Linked DNA regions of Homo sapiens: region 2 is linked to region 1. Evidence: promoter capture Hi-C in human tissues and cell types (Jung and others, 2019). All regions are on one chromosome and are shown on one strand. Each heading gives the region's core, a stretch centred on a gene start or on the middle of the fragment in contact. The rest is flanking DNA. Distances are from core to core; before and after follow the strand shown.

Region 1 (4,960 bases), core at 2,351-4,850:
GCCAAGAGTATGCTGGGCACTGGGCGTCTAGACTTGAATGAGATAGACTGGTTTTGTCATTCTGCTGCTTGTAGATTAAGAGGAAGATGGAGATTAAGCAAGTGACCAGAGAGGAAGTATCAAAGGCTACAGGGGACTAGAGCCTTAGAGTGAGGGCTGTAACCTAGCCTAGGTGCCTAAGGAGGCTGCTCTGAAACCTGAAGGCTGAATAGAAGTTGGCCAGCCAGGAGGTGAGCATGTGAGAAGGCCACAGGAAGAGAAAGAACAGAAAGAAGTCAAATTAGGCTTTGGGGAGTTTTTTCCTCTTCGTGGCTGTCCTTGCTGCTATTTTAAACATGACTCCACCTGGATAAAAATGTAGGACACTGTGACCTCTGTGTGTTTGTCCTCTACCTCCATCTCCAGTGGCCTAAGATGGGCAGTAGGACAGAGGAGGGCAGTTTAAAGTCTGACAACAGGCTTAAGACTGTTTTATACACAGCTGTGAGTCTATCATTACATTTCCGTGCATGTTGATTTTCGTCATGATGCTGGGCAGCATCCGAGCAAGGCCATGCAAGATGGGACAGAGGGGGATATGGTACTGTCTTCCATCCTGCACCCCAACTTTGATGTTACTTCAGAGGGATAGAGGAAGTGGTAGCTTGTTTACAACCCAGAGCTGGTTTTGAAGCTGAGAGGAACACCTCACTCATATTGCACGATTCAGCTCTAACTCCTGTCCTGGGTGACCTTGCCTGTGGCTGCTCCTATCTCACAACCCAGTGGGGGTCCTGAAGGTTTGGGAGTGGTCAGGGCTGAAAGGTGTCTTTTCATTTAACTTATGAAGAAATCGTAAGAGACAAGATGATCAAGACAAAAAATTACATAATAATTTGGTTGCAAAGCCAGGACTAGAATCTATGTTTCTAATGCCACCTGCATGCACTATTTCTCTCTGGAGGCCTTCACACAAATTTGCACAGCTATTTTATATACTTACCTCATCTGATACTCTCAGCAGTCCTGTGAGATTGGTAGGGATTAAGATCTCTATTTTACAGATGAGAAAACTGAAGCTCTGAGGAGGTTTGGCCAAGTCCCCACAGCTAGAAAGTCAACCTTCTGACTCAGAATTCAGCGTGTCTTCCACTGCGTTCTGTAGTTGTGCAGCAGGCACAGTCTTGGGGGGTTGCTGATTATCTACCTGAGAATGGTTTGGAATGTAGATAATGATTAGATAGGAGGGCTTGCAAGGAGTTAATTAACCATGTTTGAATATTCTTACCAATTCTCTAGCATTCAAGTTGCAAATCAACATCAAAATGAGCAAGTAGCTGGCCCTGCCCTACTAGTCCTTCTGTGCAAGGGGCCATCTGAACCTTAAGCCAGCAGTTTGTGTGGGCAAACAGATGCCCATCTTCAAATCCACACTTAGGAGACTCCTGTCTCTGTTTTCTGCTGGGACTCTGACACTTGCTCTTGCAGAGAAGGTTCTCATTAAATATATGTTGGAAAAACCCCAATAATTGAATCATCTACAGGATGTTCTCACTTTAGCCATATTCCCTTCATTTTCCTTTGAGGGCTAAATGGGAGTAGAGATATCTTTGCTGCTGGTCCTGAGAGACCATGGGGTTGTCCATTCCTGGTAAGGTGATGCTGACCAGACAGAGCTGATCTAGATGAGGGGTGGGAGGTGACAGTGGTTCAGTGGCTTTCTTGGAGGATGCATGATTGTTTGAATTATTATTTTTAATTGACATATATAAGTATATAATAAATATATATGTTATATATATGAGTTAGAGCTGAATTGCACAATATGAGCAAGGCGTTCCTCTCAGCTTCAAAACCAGCTCTGGGTTGTAAACAAGCTACCACTTCCTCAATCCCTCTGAAATAACATCAAAGTTGGGGTGCAGGATGAAGGCACCCCAATAATACCACACTGGGGAAAGTGTGGTATTTTGATACCTGTATACAATGTATAATGAACAAAGCAGGGTGGTTAACATAGAGAATGCATGATTTGCTTGGTGGGGAGAACTGGATGGTTCTGTAATTATGTTGAGATGGACAGAAAGACATCATCTGACTTGGGGAGAAAATCGGGTGTGGGAGGAGGTGGGAGAGTGCAGAACCTGAGGCAGAGGTCCCCAGCAAGTCTGGCATGGGGTAGGGTAGGGTGGTTGAATACTGGCTTCAGGGAGATGAGGCAAGCTGGCCTGACTCTGGCAGGTTGTCAGTGGTAGTCCTAGGTAGAGGAGGGGGCTTTGCTAAGCTACCTGAAAAGTACTAGAGTGGGCCGGGGTAGGAATCGGGCTACCGTGGCTTGTCGGAGATGAGGAATGTTTTTAGAAAATTGAACTGACCATCCCTTCCTTCCCCTGAACAGCAGCTTGTATGCAACTATAAAGGTAGTCTCCCTTTCAGCCCTGCTTGCTGTGTCTTTATTCTTATCAAAAACCAGGATCTGAGTTCAGAGGGCAGTGAAACATAAAATGAAATAGGAAAGGTTGCAGTAGTACATAGACTTTGGCTGCTCCCACTAACCTGCAAAAAAAATATTTTCCTTGGGCGTACCTTAGCAGTTCCATGGCAGAAGTTTTATCTCCTGTGGTTCAGAGAGTTTGGCTCGTCAAGCTGAATGTAGGGTTAAAGTGTGTCCTCCCTCCTCTGTGGGTGTTTGCCTAGCTCCTGGCTGTGGGTTGAAGGGACTGGTAAATATGTCTATTTTACTGCTGAGGCAGGGTGGCTCAGTGCTTGGTCACCTTGGAGGGATCATAAGCAAGCCGCCGCTGGGGCCCTGTGCCACGCACAGGTATTCATGCGTGCGTGCAAGCACACCCTGTATAGCTGTGTAATAATTGTCCAGGTGTGGTGCATTCTTTGTCAGATGTACCCTTGTTTTTACTGCCTCTGTGCAGGATGTTTATTTGCTGTGCTTCAGGCTGGGGCACGTAGCTTGATCAAGGGTAGTTTTTGCTGTGGCCCCTGCAAATACGTTGTGGTGCCCAGAGTAGATGAAAAACTGTGAGTTTCCCAATAGAGCGGGTTCATCTGGACTCTTGTTGGTTGCGTTCTAGGAGCTAATTCTGTGGCTCTGGACTCTTCCCTGGAGGTGGGGATGAGGCCGGGGCCGGGGGGAGGTGGTCTTGTGGCGCTACTGCGGGCTGTGCACTCAGGAAAGTGGCCACGGTTTAGGACGACCTCGACACGACCCTGTATAGGACGCAACTAACTCCAGAGAAAACGAGCGAGCCCCATGCAACTCTTCATTCCTGCAGGGAGAACAAGGAGGTGTGCCCGCCAGGGAAGGGACGCACCCCCACCGGCGCTCGCTGCCTTAACTTCCCCATCCCCGCGCCAGGGAGGGGCCGGAGTCGCCGCCGAGGCCGCCGAGCGCAGAAAGTGCGCGAAAGGGACGCGCTGCGAGCCTCACACGTGACGGCGCCGCGCCGAACCGAGCGGGACCTGGCGGCAGCGGCGGCGGGCGCAGCGGGGCGGCCCGGAGCGGCGCGGGCGGCCTGGAGCCCCGGGAGCGGCGCGCGCGGTCCCGGCCCAGCGGCTCTCCTGGCCTCGCGCTGCACATTCTCTCCTGGCGGCGGCGCCACCTGCAGTAGCGTTCGCCCGAACATGGCGACACGGAGCAGCAGGAGGGAGTCGCGACTCCCGTTCCTATTCACCCTGGTCGCACTGCTGCCGCCCGGAGCTCTCTGCGAAGTCTGGACGCAGAGGCTGCACGGCGGCAGCGCGCCCTTGCCCCAGGACCGGGGCTTCCTCGTGGTGCAGGGCGACCCGCGCGAGCTGCGGCTGTGGGCGCGCGGGGATGCCAGGGGGGCGAGCCGCGCGGACGAGAAGCCGCTCCGGAGGAAACGGAGCGCTGCCCTGCAGCCCGAGCCCATCAAGGTGTACGGACAGGTGAGCAGTTTTGCAACCCGCCTCCCTCCAGTTTTTTCCTCTCCCTGCACTTCCTCACCCCCGCATCCATCCGTTGCAGTCGCCTCCTAGGTGCAGGCACCACTGGGGACTTCCCGGCTTGCATTTGTTTTTTTCCTTCACGAGTACAACCGTCAGCACTTGAATCGCATTGATCTTTCCTTCTTCCTGTCGATTTAGTAAACGTATTCCAGGTAACTCGCCGGGTGCAGTGCGTATTACCCCAGGGTGTGTGCAGAGAGATGTAGTTTCCGGCAGGTATAGGAGGGGTGCAGCTTCATTTTACATCTGGATAAAAAACGGGCTTTCTTTAGTGTATCATCAGTTGGCAGTGGAGGCGAGCACCCTGCAGTTGCGGTACACTTACACAGAACAGCACGAGGTGGGGGTTTCCACACTTAGCATTATTAGCACAATAAAAGTGGGCAAACCTGAAAGCTTGTCGACTATCTCTGTACAGTCAGACAAGAGGTGTGTGTATGTGTGTGCGTGTGTAAAGGCTGAATTTTTAATTTTTAATTTTTGGCGAGCGTGTGAGATGCTCTCCATTCCTTCTTCCCCACCCTTCAAGATGCTGACTCTCCCACCCCCGTCAAGATAACTTTATTTTGGAGAGGAATACCCCTCATGGCACTTGGAGATTTGAAAGGACTGCAGGAAATTTGGTGGGCATTATTATTCTATAAGTGATTTATTTCTACCCAGGCAATAGGTTTATTAGATCATAAGTAACGTGAATTTCACTTTTATGGTCAGACTTACTGCGAGGAATTGCAGATGGAGTTTGTAGGTTAGGATCAGCACTGGCAAAATTAATTTGACCGTGTTATTGCCTCATGAGACTCCCAGTCCTGCAGTTAAGATTGACATCAGCAAAAGTATAAGGTCGGTGGGGGAGAAAAAGTAGGACCAGAGGAGGGGGTAAATACACTTGTTTTCTAGAGTCAAATTGTTCCTTTTGAAGTAGAAATTATTAATAAAAGATTACCCTGAGTTCTGCCTTTTCTCACTAATTTCACTTTAGCCATTTCTTCAGGAA
Region 2 (5,381 bases), core at 191-2,690, 530 kb before region 1:
GGACCAGTTAGCTTTGCCCGTTGTCAGCGACCCAGAGCTTAACCAGCTGTTTTGGCAGCCAGCAGGGATGGGAGACAGGCAGAAGAGGGTGGACTCACTGGTGAAAATTCAGTGCCCCTTGTCCCATGGCCTATTGGTGACTGTATTGTGGGCCAGAGATTTTTATCAATAAAGGGTGCATTTGGGTTAGAAATGAGCATATCGGCCAGGCGCAGTGGCTCACGCCTGTAATCCCAGTACTTTGGGAGACTGAGGCGGGTGATCACCTGAGGTCGGGAGTTCACGACCAGTCTGGCCAACATGGTGAAACCCCATCTCTACTAAAAATACAAAAAAAATTAGCCAGGTGTGGTGGTGTGCGCCTGTAATCCCAGCTACTCAGGAGGCTGAGGCAGGGGATTTGCTTGACCCCAGGAGGTGGAGGTTTCAGTGAGCCAAGATCGCACCACTGTGCTCCAGCCTGGGCATCAGAGCGAGACTCCATCTCAAAAAAAAAAAAAGAAAGAAAAAAAAGAAAAAGAAAGAAAAGAAATGAGCATATCTTCCTGAAAACTCAGATAGGATTCAATTTCTTTTCTTGATTCGACATGTAAATTGTTGGTCAATCTTCAGAAAGTCAGGTGTGATGGTGGTGGTAGTAGTGATGTGAGGAAGTGAAACTTAGGCCTCTCTGGGCTTTGCCACATACCATAACCTGCCTGGACCTAAGCTCTCAGTTCCCTTTCTCTTTCACACCTCAACTATATAAACACTGACATCTATAATGCATATTAGTTTTTTAATCATGGGATTTCTTTTCACTCCCTTCAATACCTACATTGAATTTTCTGAAACAATAATTTTAAAAAATAAATAAAATTGAAGTGAATCCTTTAAGTTGCAACAAAATAATAAAGGCTGACACTTCTGGAACATTCCCTATGTTTCAGGCACTGTTCTAAGTGCTTTTTGTGTATTCATTAATTTAACCTCCCCAACATACCTACAAAGTATGTAATATTACTAACCCCATTTTCCAGATGAGGAAACTGAGGTACAAAGAGGTTAAGTAACTGGCCTAAGATTATGCAGTTAGTAAGTGGCTGAGCTGGCCCTAGAGGGTGTACCCTTGGTCAAAACATTCTACTACAAAATCGTTCCCTCAGTTGAGAGCCAAGGATAGAGAATAATGTTAACTGAGCTCCTCTTTCTTGGATTTGTCTATTCATTCATTCAATCATGACTTCATTCAACAAATATTTATGTAGTGCCTGGCACATGGCAGGTTCTGGACACTGGAGATGTATGATGACTAAGGCAGACAAAGGTCACTCCTTCCTGAAGATGGCACTCTAGACAATCAACAGGTAAACTGGTAAATAAACAAGACAATTTCAGGTCATGATTTCCGCTGTGAAGAAAATAAAGCAGTATAATGAGCCAGAGTGTCTCGAGGAGAGGGGCCCATTAAGTGGGCAAGTAGGGAAGGCTGCATTGATGGCATGGTGCTTGAGCTGAGGTCAGAACGGTGAGAAGCCAGCTGGGCCATGGCCAGGGCAGAGCATATGTGGAGGGGAAAGAGTAAACTCCAAGACCCCAAGGTGGAAAGTGAACTTGTCATGTTCAGAAATCAGGATGGGGGTTAGCATGACTAGCTAGACTGTGGTGAATGGGCTGCCGTATCACCAACGCCTGGTGGGCCACGGTAAGGAGTTGGGTCTTTATGAACTTGGAAGTCTCTCGGTTCTTTTCCTAGGTCCACATACACCCATGGTCTGAGGATAGCATTGAGAGTCCACAAAACTAGAAAGGAAGAATTGGCCGGGCACAGTGGCTTACACCTGTAATCCCAGCACTTTGGGAGGCCAAGGCAGGCTGATCACTTGAGGTCAGAAGTTCGAGACCAGCCTCGCCAACATGGCAAAACCCCATCTCTACTAAAAATACAGAAATTAGCTGGGTGTGGTGGTGCGTGCCTGTAGTCCCAGGTACTCAGGAGGCTGAGGCAGGAGAACTGCTTGAACCTGAGAGGCGGAGGTTGCAGTGAACCACATCACATCACTGCCCTCCAGCCTAGGTGACAAAGTGAGACTCTGTCTCAAAAAAAAAAAAAAAAAAAAAAAAGAAAGAAAGAAAGAAAGGAAAAATTAACATCTATATATTTTTCTAAGTTCAAACAGAAATGTAATATTTCCTTCAATTATGAATGTGGTCAACAAAGCTTCATGGTATTAACCACACCTGTGACTTTGTCACCAATGGTATTAATTTAGTGTTGCTGTTAGACACACTTCCAGCTCTTGTTATGTAAAGAGGCACAGATACCACTATAGCACAAAAAGTGTACACATATTTTGATAACTGAATTTCTATGTAGTCATTTTAAAATATTTTAAAATAAGAGGTTAACAGGTATCAGCAGACTGTTAAAGAGGTCCATGGCATAAAAAAATATTAAGAAGGCAGGCCAGGCATGGTGGCTCATGCCTGTAATCCTAGCACTTTGGGAGGCCGAGGCAGGCGGATCACCTGAGATCAGGAGTGTGAGAGACCAGCCTGGCCAACGTGGTGAAACCGTGTTTCTACTAAACATACAAAAATTAGCCGGGCATGGTGGTGCACAACTGTAATCCCAGCTACTCGGGAGGCTGAGGCAGGAGAATGGCTGGAACCTGGGAGGTGGAGCTGCAGTGAGCCGAGATCGCACCACTGCACTCCAGCCTGGGAGACAGAGCAAGACTCCGTCTTAAAAAAAAAAAAAAAAAGCTAGAAGGCGACACGGAGAAAAATGGCATCGTCTGCTTTAGCTTTCCCAAAGACCCCTCTGGCTGCAACGGGAAGAGGGGATTGTAAGAAGCAGGACCTCACATGAGCTCTGTTTACACAGGGAGTTGAATTTAACCCTCACCACAATCTTAAGAAGTATACATTATTTTGCCTATTTTAGAGATGAGGAAACTGAAGCTCAGATTTCTGGTAATTGCTCAGCTGGTGAATGGCAGAGTCGGGATTCAAACATGCATCTGCCTGACCCCAAAAAGCAAGAGGATTGAGGATTCGTGGGCCAGTGAATAGAAGCCTGTAACAAGAGGGTCAAGGGTAAATAGTATCTGCTTGGCCTCTTGAGTCAGCTTGGACCTCTGTGCCGCATAATTTCACCTGCAAATGAACTGCCAGCCCCTTCTTTCCTTAGCGCTGGTTCGTTCCTAAAATCTGCCCTCTATAGGCCAATAACACAGCCCTGTGCCGAGCCAACTAAATATTTCATGGGGACTTTAATTTAACTCTAAAGAAATTCATCCAGCCCCGAGAGTAAGCTGTAACCTCGAGAAATAGCACCAGGGAGCACTTGGACCTGCGGATGACATTGCCACTTTCCCAGGAATGCTAATGCTCCACTGGGCCTCTGCCTCTTCAATCATTGCTGTGGATAGGCCTGGCCCAGTGAGCAGGGATGATTTCTACAAACATGGGCTCGCACTGGTTAGCAAAGACGTGTGTGTGTGTGTGTGTGTGTGTGTGTGCGCGCGTGCACGCGTGTATGTGTGTGTGCGCACATGTGTGTGTGTGTGTGTGTCTGTGTGTTGGCACAGGTGAACAATTGGGTGCTATTTACTGTTCCTTTATTCCCTGATCTTTGTTCCTATATCCTGGTTCTGAAAGAAGGGAGAGGTGGTGGGGTTGGCATCCAGTCTCCCCAGTGGACAAGGACACCAAATATTTTGCAGGTGCCATGTGACCCCTAAGAGTTTCTCTTTGTCTCCAGCCCGCGGCGGGTGGCGTGGGCAGACAGCCTGACTCATGTGGCAGGAGAGCAGATGTGTGTGTTCTCAGGCATGTGACGCTGAAGTCTAAGGGATGAGCCCTGCGGATGCTCGTGTGGGCCAGGAGTGGGAGTGAGCCTCCCTGGCTCCTTCTGATCCCATTGCCCTGCAGCTCGGTGACCCCAGTGAGTCCTGGCAAGTTCCCTGGGCATCTCAATAGGTGCGGGTGGGAGGGAGAAAGCCGCCCGCAGGTAAACTGATCAAAAGACAGGAAGTGAGCAGATAATCTAATTTGAAATGGGCTGAGATACAGATGTTATTCTGCTCAAATGCACAGCACAAAAGGACTGGGGCCTGGGGAGAATTGGGAAGCAGCTCCGTGGAGCCAGTCTTCTGGCCTCTGGCTCAGCCTGGGCCTGTCATCTCCATTCCTTCCCGGGCTGTAATTAACACCCCTCCGCTGATAGCTGCTTTAAGCCAGATTGGAGCATGGGGCCCTTCCTCTTCTGGTTGGGCGTCCCACATGACACCGTCCAAGGTGTTAGAGGGAACCGGGTCTGGGGCAGGGCAAGGGGAGAAGGGCGCCCTCTAGTGGGGAACCTACGGCTTCAAGTCCTTAGGTTGGAGGATGTCTGATCGCATCCACAGCATGACCTGAATCTGGTTCTAATGTTCCAGCCTCCTGACAAAAATCCCTCCTGCATACAGGCATCTGTCAGAAATCAGCCTGCTTCAGCTGCCAGCAAGAAGGGGCTCGAGGGCAGGCCACGTTTGGGGGGGGGGTCCCCTCCTTACCCACGCTGTTGGCTGCACTGGCTCTTCACTAGGGACTGACTGTGTGCCCTCTTGGGGAAAGTCACTGCGAACAGTGCAGTAATAAGAAAGCCAAGCGCACAGTCCTGAGAATGTGTACATGGGGGTCTGAAGCTAGCTTTCTTCATGTCCTAGCTGCGTGTATTTGAGCAAATGATGAACCTCTCTGGGTCTCAGCGTCTTTGTCTCCAAAACAGGGCTAATGGCAGTTTTGAAATGTTGTTTATGTTAAATTTTTTCAAAGATTTGATCCCTGCTTCAAGAAGTTTATCTAATGTAGAGATAAGATATGCACACAAATGTAAACAGCAGTAATAGTAAGAGCTAACATTTATTGTGAGTTATCTGTGTCAGGCCTAAGCTTTGTGTGGGTTGCTCATTTAATTCCCATAGAAGCTCCATGGAGGTGGGAACTATCATTATCCCTACTTTACTGATGAAAAAACTGAGGCACAGAGAAGTTAAGGTCACGCAGCTCATAGGTGGCAGAGTTGGAGTGTGAGTCCAGGCATCCTGTACTAATACAAGGAAATTTATAGTATATGCCATGGTGGGTGGCATGAGCATTGCCTTCTCTCTTTGGCGACAGACAAGGGAGGGCTTATGCCTGAGAAGATGATCAGAGAAGGTTTTATGAGGATGGTAAACTTTGAATAGACCTTGAAGAGTAGGTGGAGTTGATGTTTGGACTTTTGATGTGGAGTAAATTTAACTGCAGAAAAGTACAAGGTGTGTTGAGAGCCAGCTGAGTTGGCCTGGCTGCAGGGGAGGGGCAGTGTCTGGGAGAGGAGTGATGGAGATGGGGCTGAACTTGCAGGAGTAGGC

The links. Contacts are between HindIII fragments. The study calls those that stand out against the background at their distance.
Region 2: a fragment that was not itself captured here is called in contact with the fragment with the promoter of SORL1 in region 1 in 1 of the 25 tissues and cell types used here (IMR-90 fibroblasts).

Annotation. Positions count from the first base shown.
Region 1 is chr11:121,448,714-121,453,673 of GRCh38, forward strand. SORL1 (sortilin related receptor 1) reads left to right here and starts at 3,601. Exons shown (of 48, transcript NM_003105.6): 1 at 3,601-3,903. The coding sequence starts at 3,619. SORL1-AS1 (SORL1 antisense RNA 1) reads right to left here and starts at 4,254. Exons shown (of 3, transcript NR_183636.1): 1 at 3,962-4,254; 2 at 983-1,186. RefSeq lists enhancers at 2,558-2,617, 4,008-4,197, 4,208-4,257, 4,298-4,367, 4,388-4,437 and 1 more and silencers at 3,488-3,537, 3,668-3,717. The HindIII fragment of the contact is 11,875 bases long and covers 1-4,960 here.
Region 2 is chr11:120,925,487-120,930,867 of GRCh38, forward strand. All of the region lies in intron 13 of GRIK4 (glutamate ionotropic receptor kainate type subunit 4), which reads left to right. Among named protein-coding and RNA genes, the nearest start is that of TBCEL, 96 kb to the right of the region's middle. RefSeq lists silencers at 644-743, 4,342-4,391. The HindIII fragment of the contact is 4,235 bases long and covers 1-3,558 here.